Linked DNA regions of Homo sapiens: region 1 is linked to region 2. The links are contacts of gene promoters, found by promoter capture Hi-C in blood cells and fetal thymus (Javierre and others, 2016). All regions are on one chromosome and are shown on one strand. The core of a region is centred on a gene start or on the middle of the fragment in contact, and the rest is flanking DNA. Distances in the headings are between cores, read along the strand shown. Region 1 overlaps RAD51AP1 (RAD51 associated protein 1). Region 2 holds the start of FOXM1 (forkhead box M1).

Region 1 (4,418 bases), core at 1,046-3,545, 1.7 Mb before region 2:
GCTGAATTAAGAACTAAATCCAATCGTATTCTCTGCAAATGGGTCTATTTATAGTGCAAAGTATTCACATTTTACCTGTTTCCTCTGTGAAGGCCCACCCAAACAAATAATCACAAAAGCATTAAGAAGGTTTTAAAGCTAAATATACAGAAAATAAAGTTACTTTTATCTTGAGAGTTCTGCACATTAGTGGTGACTGTTGGAAGTTCCTTCACTGATAAAGCTAGTGCAACTTCTAAGTCTCTCTGGTAGAGCTTGTCATCTAAAGCCATCCTAAAATAGATACACAAGTAATAATGAGTTCTTCAAAATATCAATCTCAACTAAAGAGCAAAGTTTGAGATTTCTCCAAATTACTATTCAAGAGTTGCTAACTTCGCAAAAATGTTTTTAAACAATCATCATTAATAGACCTTTGATGATAAGATAAGACTCCTAAAATGTCACAGTATCATGTTACATACAGAATAAGAGGTTTGAAATAGGAGGACCATGTGCCTCTTTGCAATGACTGTTCCCTTTCATTGTAATGTGTCACCTTACTACCAGCTGTGTCCAGGTGGGAAACACCCTACTCAACCCAAAACAGACTTGGTTCAAACATCACTTCCACTTAAAACTCTTCCTTGACCTCACCCACTCCCCTTTAGCAGATTTTATAGCTCTTACATTAAATTAAAATTATTATCATTTTTTTACATCTCTTCCTCCCAATCCAGACTTTAACAAATATTTTACCAAGCACTTACTTTGTACAAGGCACTGCACTAGCTGGAATACTAAAAGTACCTTCAGGGAGTCTGCAATTAAAGGAGGAGGGTGGGGAAACAAGACATGCTAATAATTATCCTATAAAAGGCAGACTATAAAGTCCTATTCAAGCTGCTCAAAAGTGCTATGGAGTATAAGAGGAAGAAAACGTCAAAGACAGATAAGGAAAAGTTACATAAAGGAAGAAGCACTGAGATGTACCTTAAAGAATTTATTTTTTTAGAATAACAGTTTTCTTAAGATATAATTCACATATCATAAAGTTTACCTTTTAAAGTAAACAATTCAGCAGTTTTTAGTACATTCACAGAGCTGTAAAACCACCAACACTACCTAATTTCAGAACATCTTTATTACCCCAAAAAGAAACCCCATACCCATTAGCATTCACTTCCTGTTTACCCCTCTCCCCTCCTAGCAACCATTAATCTGCTTTCCGTTTCTATGGATTTGCCTATTCTGGACATTTCATGCAAATGAAATCATGTAATATGTGACCTGTATATCTGGCTTCTTTCACTCAGAATGATGTTTCCAAGGTTCATCCATATTGCAGTATATATCAGTTATCAGTTGTCATTTCTTTCTATGGCTGAAAAATATTCCATTTTGTGGAAACCACATTTTACTTATCCATTCATTAGCAGATAGACATTTAGATTGCCTCCATTTTTTTTTAGCTATTATGAATAATGTTGCTGTGAACATTCATGTATGGGTTTTTGTGTGGGCATATGTTTTCATTTCTCTTGGATACATACATAGGCTGGGTCATGTAATAACTCTGTTTAACATTTTGAGGAACTGCTAAACCATTTTCCAATTTAGCTGCACCATTTTACTTTCCCACCAGCAATATATGAGGGTTCAAATTTCTCCACATTCCTTGTCTTTTGTATTAAGTCATCTAGTGGGTGTGAAGTATTATCTCATTCTGATTTTGATTTGCATTGCCCTCACAGCTAATGATATTGAGCATCTTTTCATGTGTTTATTGGTTATTTGTTTATCTTCTCTGGAGAAAGTCTATTGAAATCTTTTGCACATTTTAAATTGTGTTGTTAGTCTTTTTACTGTTGAGTTTTACGAGTTCTGTGTATACTCTGGATACAGTCCCTTATCAGTTATCTGATTTACAAATATTTTCTCCCACGTGTGGGTTCCTTTTTCTATATATTTAAAATGTAATACAAGAAACTCACAAACAAAAACCAAAAAAAAGAAAAGCAAAAAAGAGCATGACATGAGGTAAGTTTCTCCAGGCTAACTCACTTTTCATAGAGAAACTTGTGGCAGTAAAACATTATATATGCCATGTTCCATTTGTTAATATTCCCCTTCCGCCCATCTCTTCTCCATACTGCAAGTTTTGGGTCTCTAAGGACTTCCTTCACTCCTTTCTGCCTCTTGATACTATCTAATGGAATTCCACGGTTAGTCTAGAAACTATGGGAACTTCTCACTGCTGGATAAATCTTAACAACATGGGGAGAAGACATCTTTTTCTGCAAGAAAATACATGGTTTTATATTTTAAAAACTGTCCTCATATTAAGTCATCTTGTGTCTTAATCATCTTAAGTCATCTAATGTCATTTTTAACAAAGTAGTCTCGTATGATTTGAGGAATTCAGAGATAAGTGCTGGGTCCTGTCAAAACCAGTCATAACTTCTGAATTCTACAATCATTATTGTCTTAATATTTAATGATACTTCCTTGAATGTTTGTGAATTTCTTTAAGTCAGAAAGCCAGAAAAAAATAGTACGTCCTGTTTTCTGACTGCACCTAGTAAAATAAGACCTATGACTCTGCCCAAGTTCTAATTTAAATCAAGGGTTCGAATCTGTGTCTCTTTAAAATTAACACATCTAATGTCATATATTTACTGCATGTCTTACCTCTCACCTTTTTTTAGGGGTTTTCTCTTGTACTGGGATTTCTTCTTTCCGGAGATTGTTCAAGTTAGGTTTTGGTTTATCTTGTTTTAACTCCTTTGGTGCTGTTCTGGATTTCTTGTTTAAAGGTACAGTTGCAGAAACAAAATCATCTATTCATGTGTGAATTAAAACCAAAAGAAAAATATTATTTTCTTCATAAATGAAAATCATTACCATGTGTGTTCAAGTTTTTATAGGCTAGGCAAATTGTTTAATTTCCACAATTTAAAAATCATTGTTAGTATTTTGTTTATCTTTACTCTCATTTATCTATTTCGACTTTTGTTTTTGTGCCCTTTATATTTAAAAATATCAGTCTATCAAAAACCAATTCACTAAAAACTGCAAAAGCAATTAAGACAGCATATAAGTGTCAAAGAAAAAATGATTAAAAACCTGTAAAACCATTAGAAAAATTGGTAGAATTTAATCACATTGAAAAGTGGAAATAAATTATTTTTATGGGAACTTCACAATGTAGCCAAATATCTTTTTTCAAAGCCCATTACTTGGGCCAGGCACAGTGGCTCACACTTGTAATCCCAGCACTTTGGGAGGCCAAGGCGGGCAGATCACCTGAAGTCACGAGTTCAAGACCAGCCTGGCCAAAGTGGTGAAACCCTGTCTCTACTAAAAAATACAAAAATTAGCCAGGCATGGTGGCGGACACCTATAATCCCAGCTACTCAGGAGGTGAGGTGGGAGAATCGCTTGAACCTGGGAGGCAGAGGTTGCAGTGAGCCAAGATCGCGCTGTTGCACTCTAGCCTAGGTGCAAGAGTGAGACTCCGTCTCAAAAAAAAGAGAAAAAAAAGCCCATTACCTATTCCTAGTACATTAACCATGCTAGAGGAAATAAGCATTATGGGGGGAAGAGAAAGTAGCTCCTATTTGAGGATTTTTACAATAGTAGTATTTTCTCTTTCCATTACCATAATGATCTTCCTAAGATCCTACCAAAGTAACTTCTTATTTTCTTGCAAAAGGATGTTCTTTTCCAGTCCATTACTGTTTCTCACAGGTTTTTCTGTCTTACCAATCCTCTGAACTGTTGTAGTTCTACTCTTGACTGTCAACGTAAAACTACTGCTGTGGCTTTTCCACATGTATACAACACATATATGCATACTTTCAGGGTCTATGCAGTCTTCATCACATACTCAGCAAGCACTAATACTTGTTGTCTCTTATATGCTTCCCCATGTAAAAATAAGATAACTTAGGACTCCCCCCACCTACTACTACACACCTGGCAATTTATAAGTATCTGATGACAGACTGATGACAAAAAAAAAAAAAAAGCTAGATGTTATACTCTACACTCTTTTTCCCAAGTGGTAGATACAGTTAAGGCTGTGCTCAAGGCAAAAACAGATTCCTTCAAACCGAAGACTTACTAAATATTTGACTTACAGAAAACTCTAGTGGTCTAAGAAAGAAATATTAAATCCACTTCAACATATAACATAATCTAATGCAATGTTCCTCAAACTTTTCAATCATAGCAGAGTCAAGTAAACATATGACTAATGCTTAAAAGGCATAACATAAGCCTAACCTTTCTTCAAGGTCTTGTTTTATAGTACAATTAATAGGGATTTTATATAATATGCTGTAACATCTTTGTATCTCAAAAAGACAGTGTTTTCCTTCTTCAGGGATGGAATAGGAGACAAACCTCTATGTTGCAACTATGGACTTTAGAGTAGT
Region 2 (4,653 bases), core at 378-2,877:
ACCTCCCATCCAACCCACCATCAAGCCCTGTCAACTTTACCTCTTAAACATGTTTTCTTAATGCCCCTTTTTTACTCTCTCTGTCTCCTTCTTTCTCTTCCTCTCTCTCTCTCCCTGCCACCCTTTTTCAAGCTCCAGCAGTTCTTGCCTGGAGTATTGCAACATCCAACTGTTCTGCCCTAATCCACTCTAGCAATCCCCGCTATAGAGGGACCTTTTAAAATGCAAATCTGACCTGGATTCACTTCTGCTTAAAGCTTATGACTGGTTTCCTTTAATTCTTGGATAAGCACAAAACTTCTCGGTATGGCTAAGGCTCTGCTTCCTCCGGCTCCAGCTTCAACTCACACCACACTCCATTCAGGTCGATTAGCTCAAACCCCTCAGATATTTCTCAGCCTTTGTACTCACTGTGCTTCCTCCTGCCATCCAGCCTTTGCACGCCTGATTCCCTCTGCTTAGAGGAGTTCCCTCCTTTCTTTGTAAAAGGCATCAGATCTCACACCAAGCTCTCATTACAAAAGCCTTTCCTGTCCTACCTCTCAAGATCTCGTTATTGTAAATACTCAAAGTATCATTAACCTCTAATGTTTCAATTTACAGCAATAATTCAACATTTGTTTGTTTTGGAGACGGTGTCTCCCTCTGTCGCCCAGGCTGGAGTGCAGTGGTGTGATCATGGCTTACCATAGCCTCCACCTCTCGGCCTCAGGTGATCCTTCCACCTCAGCCTCCAGAGTAGCTGGGACTACAGGCACGCACCACCACGCCCGGCTAATTTTTAGTAGAGAAGCGGTTTCGCTATGTTGCCAGGCTGGTCTCGAACTCGTGACCTCAAGTGATCCACCCGCCTCGGCCTCCTAAAGTGCTGGGATTACAGGCGTGAGCCACTATGCCCAGCCCACATTTGTTTATTTGATTAAAATGTCTGTGCCCCTCTTCCAGGATTGGGCTGTGAGCCCAGGGGAAGGAAAGAACCTTGTCTGCCATTGTATCTTCAGGGCCTAGCGGTGCCTGGCGCACAGCAGTTGCTCAACTAGACTGGTTGACTAAGTCAATAAATAAAGCACTACGGTCTATTATATCCGAAGGCTTGGCTTCGGGAGGGGCAAAAGACAGGTTTCGCGCTGAGGTAGGGTTCATGGTGCCGACATTTTTTTTCAAGATGGAAGAAAGCGGAGATAATACGCAGCCCTCAAAGGAACTTAGTCTAATCGGGGGGAGCAGACGATCGTTCACTGTGGGAAAATGGGGTACGATTTCCCCCAGTGAGGAAATCAACTAAAGCCGAGCTTTGAAAAGGGGAGCAGAGGAGCCTGAGGGGAAGCGGGGGCGTGTCGCCTGGCGTGACCAGCGCGGCAGGAAAAGCGGGCCCAGGGACCCGGGCCTGTCACGCCGCTTCCGCGCGTCCCCAAACTCTCCCTCGGCTCGCCCACCCACGCGGCGGGGACCCCTCCGGCCCCTCCCCGGCCCCACGGCCACTTCTTCCCCCACAAGCCGGCCTGCGGTCCGCCTTACCAGCCCGGGCCGGACGGGGCCGCAGCTCCTGGCAGACCGCACAGCCTTCGAGCCCGGAATGCCGAGACAAGGCCGGCGCCGATTGGCGACGTTCCGTCACGTGACCTTAACGCTCCGCCGGCGCCAATTTCAAACAGCGGAACAAACTGAAAGCTCCGGTGCCAGACCCCACCCCCGGCCCCGGCCCGGGACCCCCTCCCCTCCCGGGATCCCCCGGGGTTCCCACCCCGCCCGCACCGCCGGGGACCCGGCCGGTCCGGCGCGAGCCCCCGTCCGGGGCCCTGGCTCGGCCCCCAGGTTGGAGGAGCCCGGAGCCCGCCTTCGGAGCTACGGCCTAACGGCGGCGGCGACTGCAGTCTGGAGGTGAGCGGGATGCAGCAATGGAGTCCCAGGCCTGGCCTGGGCACAGGCGGGGAGCAAGGCCTCCGGGCGCGGAGGTCAGGGCGTCTAGCAGCAGGGCACGGGCCACGAGTGGAGATTTGGGTCACACGGGAAGAATCTGAGCCAGGGTGCAAGTTTTTTCTGCGTCCACCTCCTGGCCGTGGCCTTCTCACTGCTTAAAGCGCCCCTTGGCCTTCCCTGGAAGTCTGACCTCCGCACCCTGCCCGCGGCCTCGGGAGGGCTGGGGTGGCCTACCTTCTTAGGCCGACTGTGGCTGAGATGAAGACTGAGATTGTACTACATTGAGTCAAAGACCAACCTGCATACACACTCCCCTGCTCCCAGGCTGTCTCACCACTAGGCAACACCGCCTCCATCTTACTTACCCTTTTGCAGGGCCCTTTTCCTGGTTCTTGAGAATGTAGCAAGATTTCCCCGCTCAGGATGGGGATGGGTCGGAGGAGCCACTCTGGAAGTTTCCCGGGCAAGAAAGTGTTGGCAATAATAATAACGGGCTGGTCAGGAAGTAGAAGAGAAAATTAAGACTTAGATATCCTGTGGAAAAAGAGGAATAATATCTACTGATTGATGCGGGGAGAGAGGGAAGCCTGGAAAGATCGGAGGTGAAAGTAAAACTGAGATTTGAAGGTAGAGGTGTGGAGGGCCTGTGAACTCTATGCAGATGACAAATGTCAAAAAAGTGCAGTTGCTTTTCAGGGAGAGAATAAGTGTCCTAAAAAAGAGACAGCCAATTCCTCTGTCTTCCAAAGTTCCGTGAAATAGAATTACACAATTTTGCTTAATGGTAGAATATTCCATGTATCTATTAAAATCAACAAAAGGCCGGGCGCAGTGGCTCACGCCTGTAATCCCAGCACTTTGGGAGGCCGAGGCGGGTGGATCACCTGAGGAGTTCAAGACCAGCCTGGCAAACATGGTGAAACCCTGTTTCTACTAAAAAAAAAAAAAAAAAATTAGCTGGGCATGGTGGTGCATGCCTGTAATTGCAGCTACTCGGGAGGCTGAGGCAGGAGAATCGCTTGAACCCGGGAGGCCGAGGTTGCAGTGAGCTGAGATTGCGCCATTGCACTCCAGCCTGGGTGACAAGAGCGAAGCTCCGTCTCAAAAAAAAAAAAAAAATTAAAAAAAATCAACAAAAGACTTAAAAAAAAAAGACTACACTGTTAGCATTTCAGAACCACCTTAGTGTAATGATGATAGCTCATTGTGGTACTAAGAAGACAGGGGTTATAGTCTTATTTCTGGAAAAGAAATTAATAAAGTGGCATGCTTAGTTAAAATATATATAACCACATGCAAGTACTAAAATGCCACTGTATAAATACAATACAAATTGTAAAAGAAAACATGCTTTTTAAATTAGAGCAAGTATAATAGCCTGTGAAATAAATGTCACCCTCTAGAGTTGTTCAGTGCACAAGCTGCACAACTTTACATGGGCCTTCAGTAGAGGTTTCCATTTTATGTGAGGTTTTGTAAACTGGGAGATGATTTTTCCAGTAGTGTGGCAATAGTACAATCTGCCTTTCTTCCCTGATTCTGTGTGCACTGGTCCTATTTACAAAGTAATATAAAAATCAAAAGGCTTGGCCAGACGCGGTGGCTCACGCCTGTAATCCCAGCACTTTGGGAGGCCGAGGCGGGCAGATGACCTGAGGTCAGGAGTTTGAGACCAGCCTGAGCAACATGGTGAAACCCTGTCTCTACTAAAAATACAAAAACTAGCCGGGCGTGGTGGTGGGCACCTGTAATCCCAGCTACTCAGGAGGCTGAGACGTGGGACTCGCTTAAACCCAGGAGGCAGAGGTTGCAGTGAACTGAGATCGTGCCACTGCACTCCAGCCTGGGTGACAAAGTGAGACTCTGTCTCAAAAAAAAAAAAAAAAAAAAAATTAAAATCCTTTGTCTTGAATGGATTATGGGATCAGAGTTTCATCAGGACTCCTAATTACCATATGCTTTCCTATTCTAGCATCTTCCATTTCTGTCCATACAGTCATTGCAAGTGATCTATTTATATTATAGTAGGCAATTATAGAGATTTCCACATATTTGTAGCTATCCCATCCATTTCTGTAGCCAAATATTCTGAAGCTTCAAGGAGATCTTTGTCTTATCTCCAACCCAGTCCCATTTTTGCCCTTTGAATTGCTTCTGTCTGCTGTAATTTTAGCCTTCTTTTGTCAGTAAAGCTTATCTCCTTATTATCTGAGGTCTTTACAAAAGTCCATGGAATGTTTACCTGGGCCTTTAGGCTCATGTTCCTGGTCATATAAAGAGGAGCACCTTTCTCTAAAAGGACCTCTTCTCAGCCTAAACAATCTCTAACATCTTGCCACTATTTGCATTTTCCAGGGTCCACACTTGTGATTCTCAATGGAGAGTGAAAACGCAGATTCATAATGAAAACTAGCCCCCGTCGGCCACTGATTCTCAAAAGACGGAGGCTGCCCCTTCCTGTTCAAAATGCCCCAAGTGAAACATCAGAGGAGGAACCTAAGAGATCCCCTGCCCAACAGGAGTCTAATCAAGCAGAGGCCTCCAAGGAAGTGGCAGAGTCCAACTCTTGCAAGTTTCCAGCTGGGATCAAGATTATTAACCACCCCACCATGCCCAACACGCAAGTAGTGGCCATCCCCAACAATGCTAATATTCACAGCATCATCACAGCACTGACTGCCAAGGGAAAAGAGAGTGGCAGTAGTGGGCCCAACAAATTCATCCTCATCAGCT

What was found. Contacts are between HindIII fragments. The CHiCAGO score rates a contact against its expected background, and 5 or more counts as called.
Region 1: a contact is called between a fragment that was not itself captured here and the fragment with the promoter of FOXM1 in region 2, in 1 of 17 cell types (neutrophils). The highest score is 5.1, in neutrophils.

Annotation. Positions count from the first base shown.
Region 1 is chr12:4,542,164-4,546,581 of GRCh38, reverse strand. It overlaps RAD51AP1 (RAD51 associated protein 1), which reads right to left. Exons shown (of 9, transcript NM_006479.5): 3 at 2,678-2,819; 4 at 164-273. Among named protein-coding and RNA genes, the nearest start is that of RAD51AP1, 5.5 kb to the right of the region's middle. The HindIII fragment of the contact is 4,691 bases long and covers 1-4,418 here.
Region 2 is chr12:2,874,148-2,878,800 of GRCh38, reverse strand. It overlaps FOXM1 (forkhead box M1), which reads left to right and starts at 1,627. Exons shown (of 9, transcript NM_021953.4): 1 at 1,627-1,881; 2 at 4,276-4,653. The coding sequence starts at 4,323. RHNO1 (RAD9-HUS1-RAD1 interacting nuclear orphan 1) reads right to left here and starts at 1,578. Exons shown (of 3, transcript NM_001252499.3): 1 at 1,519-1,578. RefSeq lists silencers at 1,322-1,761, 1,802-1,871. The HindIII fragment of the contact is 3,757 bases long and covers 260-4,016 here.